Linked DNA regions of Homo sapiens: region 2 is linked to region 1. The links are contacts of gene promoters, found by promoter capture Hi-C in blood cells and fetal thymus (Javierre and others, 2016). All regions are on one chromosome and are shown on one strand. The core of a region is centred on a gene start or on the middle of the fragment in contact, and the rest is flanking DNA. Distances in the headings are between cores, read along the strand shown. Region 1 has its middle 4.0 kb from the start of NFIA. Region 2 holds the start of OMA1 (OMA1 zinc metallopeptidase).

Region 1 (2,919 bases), core at 1-2,500:
TGGCGGGGAGACAGACTGGAGGAGGGGAGAAGGGGGCAAGGCCTTTTCCCTGCCCCCTCCCTGCCCCCTCCGCCGCAGGCTGCCGCCGGTACCTCGTGCGTGGTTACTATGCAAATTGCAGCGATTGCGGAAATAAACAAGGGAGTTGGGAGAGGAGAGAGGGACTGCCGAATCGATTGCAACTTCTGCAAAGTCTCGTACAATCCAAAGCACGCAAGGCAAAACCAGAGCGAATCTGAGAACCAGCCAGCCCGGGTTGGATCGCTTTCAAAAGAGAGAGTGAGAGCGAGCGAGCGAGCGAGCGAGAGCGAGACAGTGAGAGAGGGAGAGAGCGCGCCTTGCAATTGCAAAAGCCTTCTGATTTGGAGTTAAAAAAAAAATTCTCCAAGAAGCCTGCAATTGGCCAACAGCTTTTTAAAAAATCTCTTCCGGGTTTTCAACGGTTCCAAGTTTATTTAGATATTTTTTAAATGCAAAAAAAAGGGGACAACAAATGAAGCAATTCGTCTGAGCATTTTAAAGTTTCTCACGTACTCTTTTTACATTGCAATGGTACGTGGTACATCTTAAACTTTCTATTTTGCATTTATATGATATGCGTTTTATAAACAATGGTAGAATGATTTTGTTTAATGGCTAAGACTAAAATTTCTCTAGCTCGCATATGCACTTAAGTGATTGCTGGGTAAATGTCTATTGTGATGGTTTTGTTTTAAAGATGTAGCTTTGTTGATGGTGTTTTTGCTATGTGCATCAGAGACCGGGTTTTCTTTTTCTTTTTTTTTTTTTTCGGGATTTGAAAAAATTGCTGAGCTTGACAGATTTTTTTTTCCTCCTAGCGCTTGCTCGGTTCCAGAAAGGGGTGGGGGGAAATCCTGTACGTGCTCTGTTCTGTAAAAGACGTCTGGCCTCAGCAGTCAACCTAACCCGAAAAGAAATGTCTGGACCCGGAGAATAATTGACGATTTGATCCTCTAATCAATGGGACAACTTGGGAGATTGACAAAAGCTTTATCCAATCATAAGGAAGCTTGGGTGTACAATAGTTCTCAATAGCCAGAGGGGGCGGGGCAGAGGAGATCTGAAGTTCTCTGCAGCTCTGAAGGGGATGGTGTGGTTCAAGCTGTCAAAGCTACAAGCGCTTCCGGATTTAGCAAGCACAATAGGAAAGAATTTTCGCGTTTAAGAAAAAAAAAAAAGCTGATCGGGGGAGTTTTGCATGAATCGTGTGCCTTCTTCCTTGTCTTTTGGAAAAAGAAACATTCTGCTAGAGAAATAACTTTGTATTGTTATTAACTTTGCATTAGCTATTATTTTTATGCTCAGGGAAGCTGGTAACTTGTGGAATGTGAAGTTCAACTTTAAGAAACGTGTGGCTTAAATCTTGCCTGAATTGTGGGACTGTAGTGAGCTTTGGGAAGTAATATATTGCGTATTCAGCATTACAAAACTTCTTACTCTGATTATCTTAGAAGCTTTGGCATTTCAAGTACTTTGAAATTAATAGGTAAACCTCTCTTCTTGAACTCTAAACAACAGTTTTAAAGGAGAGAATGTTTCACATGTGGACTAGCAGCTGTCTTACACACTTGAAAGAAATTAGGGGAGTGTTTTTTCTTGGCTATTCTTGAATTCTGCTTTTTAAGTATATGGTCAGTAGGAAATAGGACGTTAAGACTGGCCAAGTTCACGTTTCTCCTTGTTACCACAACAACCCCCGTGGAGAGTGTATGGAAGATCGCTGACTTGCTAACTGTTAGTTGGAGTCTGGCCTCTTGGACAAGTGCTTGATACAAATCCAGTGGAAACCAACTGCAGTAGCTTGTCTTGGAGACAGTAACTGGCAGCCTCTGACTAAAATATCTCCATCTCCTCCTCTCTGAGCAGCGTAGACACCCAATTCTGTTGGGAAGTGAATGGAAAATAATATGGGCTCTTTCCCTTCTTTGGATTAAATTCCCATCGAGCTATTTCCCAAGGCTTTAGGCCTTCCAGTCAAATCTGGCTTGGAAATTTGATGTAAGAATTCACTTGGACACTCACTTCAGCAACATGATTCAATTTAGGATTATATGCACATAAGAAAAATCTGCACAGAAGTGACCAGCAGGTCAAAAACCAGAGAAGAAAAAATGTTGAAAAATGCCAGTTAATAAAGTTAGTTTTGGTAAGAACTACAGAGTTATGGTGTTGTCGCTTATGAATCCCAGTCCTATCTTCACTGCTTTGGGTATTAAAATCTAAATCATATTAATAAGATCTCCCTATTAAGTAACCTCCAAAATGAGAGCTATTTGAGATGTACATATAAGTGAAACCTTATTGACGTAATTTATATATCTAAGAGGATTTCACTAAAGCTGGCAAGGTAACGTTTCTGCAAATAAAACACAGTAAATGCAAGGCTGGGCTCTGTGCCAGGAAGAATATGGATAGCAGAGAGCATGACAGGAGCCTCCTTTGCGCAGAGACAATCCCATTTCAAGGCAGCCTCCTACCACTTGGAAAATAAATGATTGGAGAGGTTATTTCCAATAAGGGGTTTATCCTTCCTAACAATGGGTCATTTATATGATTGCAGTGAACTAGTTTCCATACTTCACCTGCGTTTCCTCCACTGCTCTCTCTACTATCCTTTCTTTCTTCCCTCCTCCTCCATCCCTGCTCTCTCTCAAGTGCCTTAGTATCTTTGTGAACTCTGGACAAGGATTTACTTTTGCAACTTGGGAAGAGGGGAGAGGGTTGGAAATGTTTTTTACCCCCAGTCTGCCCTTTGAGGAACATCTGTTTCTTTGTGCGTGTGTTTAAATTTATGCCTGTTGGAGAGAAAGTTACCAGAAGCCTTTCTGTAACTGTAACTCTTCTACTGTATTTTTCTCAGTCTTGTTTCCAAAGGCTGTAGTTGGAACTGTGCTTTGT
Region 2 (2,919 bases), core at 182-2,681, 2.5 Mb before region 1:
TGACACAGAAGGTATAAGCAAAAGCCCCAACACTACGCATATATAATTAAAACCATTATCATTTCTATCACTGACAACCAAGTGTCGTTTTGAATAGAAACAGTGCCTGATATTTTGTAATACCCGGTTTATCCTGAAGAAAGGGTAAAGAATGAGGGAAGAAATCTATTCATGCATTTTCAAGGAGCCAATCACTAGACTACAGAGCACATAAGAAAAAAAAAAATCAGGGCTGACATATTCTCTTCAAAGAGCTGTGGCAGGTCAACAAACATAGCTGGCAGACTTCTAGGATAACAAAATTAATGATGTGAGAAAATTAAACAATTTGGATTGTTAGCCTCTACGAACATTTCAGATCCTTAATTCTTTAAGTACCATCTCCGAATGAGCAAGTGCAGCACTCACTGGCACTCACAGCTGAAGCCTGGAAGACAGTTTTAACAACTCTTGCTGAAAATGACTATTTCTTCTCTAGTTTCTATGGAAACAGCTGTCAGATTGGCAAAAATAGGACATGTACTTTAAAATAATCATTCAAGCAAAGTACACACATGATGGAAGGCTTTAAAAAAGAATTGGACGGCAGCAGACTTGGTTCTTAAGCTTCCAAATGTCAGACTACACCCCTTCACCCCGGCTGAGAATGACGGAGATGAACCTAAATCCTTTTAGCGAGGGTTGCACGACCTTGATCAACGCCTGAATGCCAAATAAGGGATTTTCATCTCCCTGGACTACAATTTCTTGTTGAGGATTGCACGGCACAATAAAACTGTTGCTCCACACACAGGCGACATTTAAACAGTATACAGTGAGTTCTGTAGACGAGTTTACGAGGAAATTGTTAAAACTCCCCGGAACTGCTTAGACGGGGAATGTTCTGGTTTGCCCTGCCGAGTTTAGGCTGGAAAACGTGTTCAGTTTCTCCTGAAGAGGGAAGGGGTGAAAGAGACGAATGCCCGACGCGCCGGGAGGCGGTCCCCTCTGGCAGAGGTGCCGGGTGAGGAGCCCGAAGCCCCGCGGGTGAGAAACCCTGCTCTGAAAGCGGAGCCGCGGATAAGGGCGGGCTGAGGGGGAGGGCAGGCGGCCCACGAAAGTACTGCCACGGGGCAGACACACGGGGTCACCGGCGTGCCCCGGGCAAGGCTAGGGGAGAACCGGGCTCCCCCAGGACAGATCCCCTCCGTCTCCCGCCCCGGCGCCCCCCGCCCCTCCCCTCCACGCAGCCTTATCGCCCACCCACGCCTCCTCCCGTACCCCCATCCCCAAGGATCCCCACTCCTTGCCCGGGCGCCCCCGCAGGCGCTCTGCGCTCCGCCCCCTCCCCACTGCCGCACTCTGCCTCCTCCCCTGGGCACGATCCTACTCGGAAAAGCTGGGGAAAAGCGTCACCGTGAGGACTGACTCAAGCAGAAGCGAAAGCGGTGACACCGCAGACCCGACCTATGCGCAGGCGCGCACCCGCACTTCCTGCCCGCCATACCGGCCGGGGCGCCCTTCGCTCCGCCCACACCCGGCAGTCAATACAGCCGCCCAGAGTCGTTCTCCCAGCTGCCCCGGGCCCCGCGGAGACTGTGGCGCTCTAGCGCCTCCGTGTGGCTTAAGGCGGGACATGGCCCTGGGCTGGGCTGCTTGCCTAGGAACAACTTTCTCCCGTCTTTGGTGAGTTGGGTCCTCTAAAGAATGATCCACGCAAGGCTGTGTCCGTTGTAGTCTCTACGGCAGTACCGGCCAAAAGGGAAGAGACTCGAAGACTGCCAAAAGACGAAGGCTTCCTGGTTCTGAATCTGCATTCATAGAAATAGTCTTTGGAGTATGGGAACAGTGCTTTCATATGATTTTTGGAGGGACGCATTTTAAGAAAGATGAAGTATAATCTTAAGTGTCTGGAGGTTAAAGTAGCTGGCTCCAAAATTATGTGTATAGTATGTTTCATTCATTTCACCAAAACATATTTCTTGAGCATCAACTACATTTTAAGTGCCAAGGATGTAGCAGTGAACAAGACAGACCTGAATTTCGTGAACTTTATATCACAGTGAGGAAAGACAGGCGATTAAAAAAAAGTGTACAAATAAACACAAATAAATAAAAGTGTACAAATAAGCCAGTACAAATAAACACTGGATTGTGATGGATGAGTAGTGAGGTCTCATATTAGTTTATTATGTTTACACTCTGTGCACAATGAAAACATCTCAAAGGACATAAACACTATGTCAAAGGACATAAACACTATGAACAATTTTAGGTATCTCTTTTGGAAAATGTGTAAGTTACTGTTTCGTTTATCTTATGTGTATTTTATGATTTGCCTTTTACTTTGAAAGGGATATCCTGGAAAACCCCTGACAACTGGACCCCTAAAAACTGAAGTAGGAGGTCCTTCAGTCTTCGTAGGGTTTATCTCCCAAACTCTGGAGTGCACATGTCTTACCAAAGTTTCCAGCATGCTAGCCACCTCTTGCTCATCTTGCCTGGTTAGCATAATGTCATTGGTGAAATAGATGGGTGTGATGTTCTCTGGAATTTCCAGTTGATCCAGCTCCTTTTGGACTGCGCAGAGCCATTATGTCATTATCCTGGGTCCACCTGATTTCCAAAGGGGCCAGACTGGCAAGTTAAGTAGAGATATGGCAGGGATGACCAACCACTCTTGTATATTTCAGGTCTTTAATTATGACATTAATCTCCACCATCATCTCACTATCCCCTCAGATGAAATATCGGTTTTGATTTATTATCTTCACTTGGAAAGAAGGACAGCTTCAGAGGCTTCCCATTGGCTTTCCCCACCATGATAACTCAAGACCAAGGACCCTGAGCTTCTTACCAATGTGGAGATTGCTCCAGCTGCCCAATATGTACTCCCAATTATGCACTCAGGAACTAAGAAAATGACTACTGGATGGGTCA

What was found. The method cuts DNA at HindIII sites, captures the fragments that hold promoters and counts their contacts. A CHiCAGO score of 5 or more calls a contact.
Region 2: the fragment with the promoter of OMA1 here is called in contact with a fragment that was not itself captured in region 1 in 1 of 17 cell types (total B cells); the score reaches 5.3 in total B cells.

What each region holds. Positions count from the first base shown.
Region 1 is chr1:61,077,077-61,079,995 of GRCh38, forward strand. It overlaps a transcript of NFIA not described here. Among named protein-coding and RNA genes, the nearest start is that of NFIA, 4.0 kb to the right of the region's middle. The HindIII fragment of the contact is 445 bases long and covers 1,029-1,473 here.
Region 2 is chr1:58,545,295-58,548,213 of GRCh38, forward strand. OMA1 (OMA1 zinc metallopeptidase) reads right to left here and starts at 1,432. Exons shown (of 9, transcript NM_145243.5): 1 at 1,409-1,432. It also overlaps a transcript of DAB1 not described here. RefSeq lists enhancers at 841-1,467, 1,681-1,870 and silencers at 1,081-1,170, 1,181-1,280. The HindIII fragment of the contact is 5,811 bases long and covers 605-2,919 here.